2 separate regions of the Homo sapiens genome follow, and region 2 is linked to region 1. Evidence: promoter capture Hi-C in 16 types of primary human blood cells and fetal thymus (Javierre and others, 2016). All regions are on one chromosome and are shown on one strand. The core of a region is centred on a gene start or on the middle of the fragment in contact, and the rest is flanking DNA. Distances in the headings are between cores, read along the strand shown.

What was found. Contacts are between HindIII fragments. The CHiCAGO score rates a contact against its expected background, and 5 or more counts as called.
Region 2: a fragment that was not itself captured here is called in contact with the fragment with the promoter of ZC3H10 in region 1 in 1 of 17 cell types (M2 macrophages); the score reaches 5.5 in M2 macrophages.

Annotation. Positions count from the first base shown.
Region 1 is chr12:56,115,593-56,120,962 of GRCh38, forward strand. It overlaps ZC3H10 (zinc finger CCCH-type containing 10), which reads left to right and starts at 2,674. Exons shown (of 3, transcript NM_032786.3): 1 at 2,674-2,726; 2 at 3,496-3,559; 3 at 4,919-5,370. The coding sequence starts at 4,971. RPL41 (ribosomal protein L41) reads left to right here and starts at 1,041. Exons shown (of 3, transcript NM_001035267.2): 1 at 1,041-1,207; 2 at 1,597-1,619; 3 at 1,890-2,375. The coding sequence starts at 1,196. The coding sequence ends at 1,932. RefSeq lists an enhancer at 633-682 and a silencer at 2,349-2,398. The HindIII fragment of the contact is 1,863 bases long and covers 1,536-3,398 here.
Region 2 is chr12:56,082,001-56,086,320 of GRCh38, forward strand. It overlaps ERBB3 (erb-b2 receptor tyrosine kinase 3), which reads left to right. Exons shown (of 28, transcript NM_001982.4): 2 at 1,751-1,902; 3 at 2,995-3,181. Among named protein-coding and RNA genes, the nearest start is that of ERBB3, 4.0 kb to the left of the region's middle. The HindIII fragment of the contact is 4,298 bases long and covers 272-4,320 here.

The DNA of each region.
Region 1 (5,370 bases), core at 1,424-3,923:
TTTCTGAACAAATGATGCATTGTAGCCAGGAATCTCTAGTGATATTTTGCTTCGGGCATCGTGGGGGAAGACCATAATCAGCTATTTTATTCTTGAAATTTAGGAAAAATAATTGCTCTATCTTAAACAGTGAGAAAATATTTTTTGAAGTATGGCAGCTTTCCCGAATCCCCACTTTATATCTTCCTATGTTCTGAAATCTTAGGACCTTCGATGGTTCCGGAATCGAATCACCCTGCAGCAATTTATTTTAGAAAATAAGGCAAACCGGCTGGGCGCGGTGGTTCATGCTTGTAATCCCAGCACTTTGAGAGGCCGAGGCGGGCGGATCGCTTGAGCTCAGGAGTTCGAGACCAGCCTGGGCAACACAGCGAAACCTCGTCTCTACTAAAAATACAAAAATTAGCCAAGTGGCGCGCGCCTGTTGTCCCAGCTGCTCGGGAAGCTGAGGCGGGAGAATCGCTTGTATTCAGGAGGCGGAAATTGCGGTGAGCCGAGATCGCGTCACTGCACTCCAGCCTGGGTGACACAGTGAGATCCTGTCTCAAAAAAGAAAAAAAGAAAGAAAGAAAGAAAAGAAAGAAAGAAAGAAAGAAAGAAAGAAAGAAAGAAAGAAAGAAAGAAAGAAAGAAAGAAAAGAAGGCAAACCAGTAAAACAAGAATTTCTGTACAGTCCGCGCCTATCCATAGCAAAATGGAGGACTTCTCCAGGGAACTGCAACTCCCAAGAAGCAATGCGAGGGAAGGTGGCGGTCACTATTTTTTCCCCGTCTGCACCTCTAGGTCCAATATTGGAAATAGGTGCTGACGTTTAAATAACACAGCGTCCTCATACTAAATCTGGGGGGGAACTGGTAACTCGAAAACCAAATACTCGGTCTTCCGAAAGAACTAACTCAACCTACCCTTCTACAAGAGGGTCCGAAAACCACTGTTACGCCCATTGGGTAGCCCCGCCCTTGGGGGGGGCAAAGGGCGTGAAAGCGGAAGTGACGACACCCGGCGCTCCATTAAATAGCCGTAGACGGAACTTCGCCTTTCTCTCGGCCTTAGCGCCATTTTTTTGGGTGAGTGTTTTTTGGTTCCTGCGTTGGGATTCCGTGTACAATCCATAGACATCTGACCTCGGCACTTAGCATCATCACAGCAAACTAACTGTAGCCTTTCTCTCTTTCCCTGTAGAAACCTCTGCGCCATGAGAGCCAAGGTGAGCGGTTCCTGGTAGTAAGCTTGGGAGGTAGGAGTTGGCGAGTAGTAGCGAGGAGACGAAGGCAAGTCCGCCATACCTCCTGAACTACTGGGTTTCAAGGGTGCCCAAGAGCTGGTGGGAGAGAGAAGGTAGTTTGTGAGAGAGCTAGCGGTTAAGTGCTATGGGTAGAGAGGGTGGGCTTAGAAAAGGGTGGAATTCTGATCTTATGTTGGGAGGGTGTCCAAGTTACTGATGTAGTTGTTACGACCAATCTTTCATACTTCTTGGTTAAGAATCTGTCCGGTTCTAAAGAGTGCATTTCATATCCTTGCTAAGCCTACTAATAAGCTTCATCCCTTTTTTTTTTTTTTTTTTTTAATTATCTGCTGCTTGTGATCGGTTGCTAGTGGAGGAAGAAGCGAATGCGCAGGTACGTTGAGACTTTGCCAGCCCAGGAGGAGGGAAGTTCCTTGGACAAAACTTAGGAGAAACATTTGGTTTGGAAATCTTAAAAGATCTTTAGGAGAAAAACGTTTGAGTGTTTTCTCCCTGGAGCCAGGATTTAACAGAACAGAGAACGATAGAACCGTAGTGCTTGTTCATTTTACCACCTCATTCTTTATGTGGACGTTTGATTTAATGTGGGAGGGAAAGGCAACTCTGGTTTGAGGTGTATTCCATTCCTGTGTCTGCTTTTCAGGCTGAAGCGCAAAAGAAGAAAGATGAGGCAGAGGTCCAAGTAAACCGCTAGCTTGTTGCACCGTGGAGGCCACAGGAGCAGAAACATGGAATGCCAGACGCTGGGGATGCTGGTACAAGTTGTGGGACTGCATGCTACTGTCTAGAGCTTGTCTCAATGGATCTAGAACTTCATCGCCCTCTGATCGCCGATCACCTCTGAGACCCACCTTGCTCATAAACAAAATGCCCATGTTGGTCCTCTGCCCTGGACCTGTGACATTCTGGACTATTTCTGTGTTTATTTGTGGCCGAGTGTAACAACCATATAATAAATCACCTCTTCCGCTGTTTTAGCTGAAGAATTAAATCATCTTGTCTATTATGTTTTTTATGGTTCCATCGGGTGGGGGTTTTCTGTCATTAGAGTTTGCCCTGTCACTACCTGTGCTATGGAGGGTATCAAAGCTATAAAGGCAACAGCCCGGGTTACGTGGTGTGGTTTGCATCTCGCTGGAGTTGGATGGGATATGGTACGTCTCTGGAGGCAGGTTTTAGGTTTCGCGGGTTATTAGGGGCCAATGCTGGTACCGCCCCTTTCCAGGAGGGCTGCCTTGGCGACTACCGCTTAGACCATGTCGTGCCTTTGGGTTGGGTTGCCATAGTGACACGCAAAGCGTGCTGGGAACGCCCTGCGGCATGTCGCACGCGTACTTCATACACCATAGAGTATGGTTCCGGGTCTGCTGGCTAGAGCGTCACTTCTTCCGCAGGAAGCGGAAGAGCGATCGGGTAGGCGGCTCTTTGTCGAAGCTAGAGGACCGGCAGGCGGCAGCAGCAACTACGGCGGCGGCGGCAGGTGAGGGAGGCGGGAGACTTAGGTGGAGGCCGCGCCCGGAGGGGAGGAGTCGGGGCCGGCCCAGCGGCTGGGCTCGGCCAGGCCACAGAAGGCCCCCCAGAACCGAGCTGGCTCGTCCTCACACCCCAGGGCAGTGCCCCTTTTCTGAGTGACCCCGCATCGCGAGCAAACGCCAGCTTCGTGACGTCACAACCCTGCCCATCCCCTCAGCTTGATGACACCTGGAGCTCCAGCTCCCCGCTTCACTTCGCGCGCCCTTAGTGTCCCATTCACGTAGCCCACGGCTGAGCGCCGGCGGCACTGCACGGAACCTGCCAAGCTAGAAGACTTGCTGCGGGAAAACTCCTAGGACTTCTTTCGCAAACTCTAGGGTGTTGGGAAGCGTCACAATCACTGCCTTCAAGTCTAATCGGCCATCCCAATGCACTGTCAGACGCTGCCTTTTTGAGGTTCCTCACTAGCCATTACTAACTCCAGCCCTTGGCGGTGCTCTGACCCTCACATCCTCTTTCATCTTGAGGCAGGGCGCCCCGCACTCTTTGTTCACTCAGGGCTGGTTTTCCAACCCCTCCTCCCAGTCCCTCCGAATTAGTTTTACTCTTCTTACTGGCAACTTCTCCCTTGGACAGGTGAAGTTCAGTTTGAACCCTGAGGAAATCCTCACGTTCTCGAAGCTTTGCCGTTTTGTCAGATTTCTTGTGACAACCACCCCATAGTCCTCCACTCTTACTCCTTCTTCCACCCAAGTCTCTGTTTTTTTCCTGCTCAGAACCCAGCAGTGATGTGGAGGTGGAGACCCACAGGAGCCCCGGACTTCACCTGAGCTACCTCAGGTATCAATTCTGGGAGAGTGGGGTGGGGAGGAGCATCATAACTAATTATCTGCTGCTGGTGCGACTTGCAACGTGAGCCAGGCTTGGATAGATGGCATTTGTACTTCACCTGGTCATTCCCCTTTACTAAAAGTTTGTATCTTCTTTTACCACTTCTTTCCTTGATTGCTTCTATTATTCTGGGACTACCTCTCTTTAGAGGAGGAGGACCCTCTTACAGATTCTCTTGTAACTCTGGCCTCTGGTTTGGTTAGTTCATTTTAGGGAGATCTGAAGGCAAAGTCACAGTAGTGGGGTGGGGGTAGGTCAAGGCCAAAGGAATTAGGAAAGATTCCCTTATTCTCAAAGGGAACAATATGAAGTTTTCCTATTTCAGCAGCAGGGGGAGCCTGAACACCGCATAGGAAAGGCTTGGGAGGTCAGACACGTGGTAGCAGGGACTCCAGGTCTTACTGGGGGTGGAGAGAGGGGAGGGCTAGAACCAGGGCAGTGGACTGACATTCCAAAGCTCTCTTGGGAAATAGGAGACTTAAAAAGCTTTTATGGAGTCTATAAATAAAGAGGATCTTTCTGGGTTGAGGAATGGTGTGGTTGGATGTCAGTGGGATCTTCACATAGGGGAGTAGGAAGGGGGTGGGGAATGGGGAAAGGTCACTTGTTCCTGTGAAATTAACTCCTTCCCACTTGACCTTATCACAAATGGTTTGTCCTAGGAAATCTAGAAGTGGAGACTCTAACTTAGAACTCCTATCCTGAAATAGAAGGGGCTTACCTCTCTGCCGTTGACAGTGATGATGGCTGGGAGGGAATACTAAAATATGACAGGTTTTGAGACTCCCCTCAAGCTGGTGACACCAGTCTCTTCACCCAGGATTTCTTGGCTTCTAGAGATTTGATGTGTACAGAGCCCTTACCTGAGGAAAAGGAAAGGGGGTTAAGGAAGTTTTGTTACCAGTGTCCCATCTTCTACAGCCCTAGTAGCTCAGTAGCCCATCTTGGGCACTATTCCCAGTTTCCTTCCAGACTATTCAGATACTGACTGCAGTTTTAATTTCACTTCCACAACTTTAATAAGGTCAGCTCAAAAGGAAAGATGAATTCCAACACTATTTTTTCCCTGCTCCGTCCTGGGCCTATCCCTCCTCCGTTAGCCAGGCAAGTGTGAATCATTCTGACCCAGACCAGGTGCACAAAACCCTGGGAGGGGCTTTTGATGAGTCAGACATTTCAGCCAGAATTCTTATCCCTTAGATTCTCCATCTCTAAAGCCATTGCCCCTCTGGGCCACCTGCTTTATAGTCAGGAAGAGTGGGATCTCCCTGGAGGACTCCTGTTTGATACAGTTCTCCTCTTTTGTAGTGGTCACCAAGAGTGGCAAGATAAAGAAAACCCTGAGTTGGGCGGGACCAGGATGCCTGACCGGGACAGCTATGCCAACGGTACCGGGAGCAGCGGTGGAGGCCCTGGAGGTGGTGGCAGCGAGGAGGCCAGTGGGGCAGGGGTAGGCAGTGGCGGGGCCAGCTCAGATGCCATCTGTAGAGACTTCTTGAGGAATGTGTGCAAGCGAGGCAAGCGTTGCCGATATCGCCACCCAGACATGAGCGAGGTGTCCAACTTGGGGGTGAGCAAAAACGAGTTCATCTTCTGCCATGACTTCCAGAACAAGGAGTGTAGCCGCCCAAATTGCCGTTTCATCCATGGCTCCAAGGAGGATGAGGATGGCTATAAGAAGACAGGAGAGCTTCCCCCACGGCTGAGGCAGAAAGTAGCAGCTGGCCTTGGCCTTTCACCGGCTGACCTACCAAATGGCA
Region 2 (4,320 bases), core at 1,171-3,670, 34 kb before region 1:
GCCCAGGCCCTTTGCCCCCTGTTTGTGTAATATGGACTTTACCCTCAGGGTAGCAGGGAACTGGGCTACCTCTAACACTGTAGCCTTCCAAGCACAGACACAAAGTCTGCACAAACACTTATGGGCACGTGGGATAGATGGGGCCACCTGAAATACTTCCTGCAAGGAAACCCAACTATAGATTCCTGAGCCAGCAGGACCAATGTGTACGTGTTCGTGTGTACATTGTGTGTGTATGTGTGTGCCCACACTACTACTTCCCTGTGCAGAAAGCTTGGCTCCTCCCTTATCTGGGGAGAAGTGTTGGCACTATAACTTGGGAAAGGGGGTATCCTGCCAGGAAGGGGATTGGGGTGGGGCTGTTCCAGAAATGACTAACCTTCCTAGTCTCTTTCATTTCAACCCAAGGACCCTGGAGTTCCCAGCTCCTCTGGAACTAGCTCTCTTTGCTGGGACTAGCCAACCTTCATGGGGAGTGATAAGGAGCCCTCCAAGGTCAAGAAGTCAGACTAGGGGTGTATGTTATAGGAGGGATTGGGGCCTCACCAGTCTCCCTCCCTCCATTCCCACTGTTGCCTCCCACTGAGCTACCACCGCCTCAGGGAAGGGTGGCTGGAACAGGTGGTATCTACCCCCTACTCCCCACCCCACACATGGTCTTTCCCTGAACCAGAGGAAAGAGACTGGGGTAGGGCTTCAGAGTCCAGGACTTCCCATAGCCCGTTGTCCACCACATTTGCAAAGAAGAGTGAACTCCCAAGGCTGACATGCCATGTACCTCTAGTCTAGGCTCTCCCCTAGTGTGGGTGAGGATTGCCATGGTGAAAGGCTTTTTCATGAACCTCTTCTAACAATGAAATTGTGTGGAGGCTCAATATGGGGCATCTGCTACTATCTCTCTCCAGGTTCCTCTGTATTTGCTGAAAAATACTCTAGGGCTGGAAAGTGATGCTGAGGTTGCTAGAGTGTGTTGGGATGGGGGAGAGAGTGAGAAGGAAACCCTGAGTTTAGGAAGGCGGGGAGGCAACTAGCTCCTTATCTTTCAGCTTTAAAGACAAAGCTCCCATTGACCCCCCCTCACCCCAGCACTGCCAGAGCTCCCCCCTCTACTGAGGTCACTTGTCTGAGCCCAAGGCTTGAGGGTGGAGGGGAGTGCTGCTGAGGACGGGGTGTCTAGGGACAGGGTGGGGCAGCCCCCCTCCTGGATAGAATCGCCTCATTGTGGGCTGGACTGTGGCCCCAGGCACTGCCCCCACCCTCTGCCCCCATCCCACCCTCAGTAGACACAATAGGGGCTGTGTACTAGTCCCAAAGAGATATTTATTCCAGGACCTAGAGAGAGGCAGGATGAGGGTAGAGAAGTGAGTGCCCTAGTTGGAGGGGGAGAGGAGGGTAATCAAAGTTGCGGCCTTTTCCTAACTTCTCTTTTCTAGGGAGAGAAACAAATTCCCTGTCTTCCTTCTCAGTTAACCCCTTAGTACCCAAAAGAAGCACAGAGGGGTCCCAGGTTGAAAAAGGAAATCTTTTCACCTTCCCATTCATGGAATGGTAAGGGGATTCTGAGAAGAGAGAAAGCTCTCAGGCCACTACAGCTTCTGCCTATCGCTTGTGGGAGGGTTGGAGGCAAATGCCATCTGATCCTGTCTAATGTAACTGGAAGAGGGCAACCAAGGGGGTGATCTTTGGGGATGGCAGATGGGCTGAGAATTTGTGTCCAGCCCTCAGCCACTCTTCCCTCTGCTTTGAACAGTGTGTCCTGGGACTCTGAATGGCCTGAGTGTGACCGGCGATGCTGAGAACCAATACCAGACACTGTACAAGCTCTACGAGAGGTGTGAGGTGGTGATGGGGAACCTTGAGATTGTGCTCACGGGACACAATGCCGACCTCTCCTTCCTGCAGGTTAGTGAGCCCACCCTCCTTCCTCAACCTGCTCCTCTTTATTCTCCCCTAGAACCCTCCTTCCTTCTTCAGGGCTACCTTCTGCTGGAGTTCACCCTTCCTAAGACTCAGGAGTTCCTAAGATTCAAAACCGTGTATTTATGGGGACAGTGGCTGTCATCTGGGACCTATGGTCTCACTGTTGTAGCCAGGGATATATAGGGGGCAGGGTCAGGGGCAGGTGGTGTTCTGTGGATAGTGCAAGGTCAGCAGGGACTAGTGCAGAGAGAAACCTGAGGACCAAGAGGTTACCTGGGGAGATGAGGAAGGGGCCCTACTGGTATGAGGCACTTTGAGGAGAAAGCTGCCTGTCTTCACTCCCAGAAGTGACACAGCAGTGTGACACAGTCTACTCCCTACTCCCAAATAGGAATTAGCAAGAGTTAAGGCCAGGTGCAGTGGCTCATGCCTGTAATCCCAGCACTTTGGGAGGCCAAGGAAGGCAGATCACTTGAGGTCAGGAGTTCAAGACCAGCCTGGGCAATGTGGTGAAACGCTGTCTCTACAAAAATACAAAAATTAGCTGGGTATGGTGGCATGCACCTGTAGTCCCAGCTACTTGGAGGGCTGAGGTGGGAGGATTGCTTGAGCCCAGGAGTTTGACGCTGCAGTGAGCGAGATTGTGCCACTCGTAACAGAGCGAGACCCTGTCTCACCAAAAAAAAAAAAAAAGGCCAAGCTCGGATCACCTGAGGTCAGGAGTTCGAGACCAGCCTGACCAACATGGAAAAACCACATCTCTACTAAAAATACAAAATTAGCCAGGTGTAGTGGCACATGCCTGTAATCCCAGCTACTTGGGAGGCTGCGGCAGGAGAATTGCTTGAACCCGGGAGGTGGAGGTTGTGGTGAGCCAAGATCGCACTATTGTACTCCAGCCTGGGCAACAAGAGCGTAACTCCGTCTCAAATTTTAAAAAAAAGAAAAAAAGAAAGGAAAGAAAGAAGGAAGAATTAAAACAGTTAAAGAGTCTTTAATGCCTGAAGGAGGAGAGGAGATTGAGATTATTTTGCCCTGTTGTCTCTCTCATTTACATAATCTGCTCTGTCACAGTGGATTCGAGAAGTGACAGGCTATGTCCTCGTGGCCATGAATGAATTCTCTACTCTACCATTGCCCAACCTCCGCGTGGTGCGAGGGACCCAGGTCTACGATGGGAAGTTTGCCATCTTCGTCATGTTGAACTATAACACCAACTCCAGCCACGCTCTGCGCCAGCTCCGCTTGACTCAGCTCACCGGTCAGTTCCCGATGGTTCCTTCTGGCCTCACCCCTCAGCCAGCCCAAGACTGGTACCTCCTTGATGATGACCCAAGACTGCTCACTCTAAGTGCCTCTTCCAAGGTGCCTGTCACCTTGGCCGCTGTCTAAAGGTCCATTGCTCCCTAAGCAATAGAGGGCCCCCAGTAGGGGGAGCTAGGGGCATCTGCTCCAGGGAAAGGAACCCTGTGTCCTTGTGGGGCTGGAGTCAGAGCTGGATCTGTTAACCGTTTTTCTAATTTCAAAGTACAGTGTACCGGAGGCCAGGCCTGATGGCTTACACCTGTAATCCCAGCATTTTGGGAGGCCAAGGAGGGCAGATCACTTGAGATCAGGAGTTTGAGACCAGCCTGGCCAACATGGCGAAACCCTGTCTCTACTAAAAATACAAAAAAATAAAATAAAATAAAAAATTAGCTGGCTATAGTGGTGCGCACCTGTAATCCCAGCTGTTCATGAGGCTGAGGCAGGAGACTCGCTTGAACCTGGGAGGTGGAGGTTGCAGTGAGCTGAGATTGCACCACTGCACTCTAGCGTAAGTGACAGTGAGACTCCGTCTCAAAAAAAAAAAAAAAAAAAAAAAAAAGCCTGGGCGCGGTGGCTCACGCCTGTAATCCCAGCACTTTGGGAGGCCAAGGCAGGTGGATCACAAGGTCAGGAGATCGAGACCATCCTGGCTAACACGGTGAAACCCCGTCTCTACTAAAAATACAAAAAATTAGCCAGGTGTGGTGGCGGGCGCCTGTAGTCCGAGCTACTCGGGAGGCTGAGGCAGGAGAATGGCGTGAACCCGGGAGGCGGAGCTTGCAGTGAGCCAAGATTGCACCACTGCACTCCAGCCTGGGCGACAGAGCGAGACTCCAAAAAAAAAAAAAAAAAAAAAAACCAAAGTACAGTATACCTGGATGTCCCTCCTTCCCTAGGAATTCTACCTTTACTCTCCTAAACCAAACCCCTATGAGCTGGAGGAATATAGGGGTTAAAAACCACCTGTCCATCTTCTGCTTCTCCATGTCCCAGTCAGTTGGAAAACATATGGGCAGGGCTTGGGGGAGGGAATGTTGAGTCAGAAATCTCTCCCTCTCTCCCTTCCCCTCCCCCACTAGCTAAACCGGATCT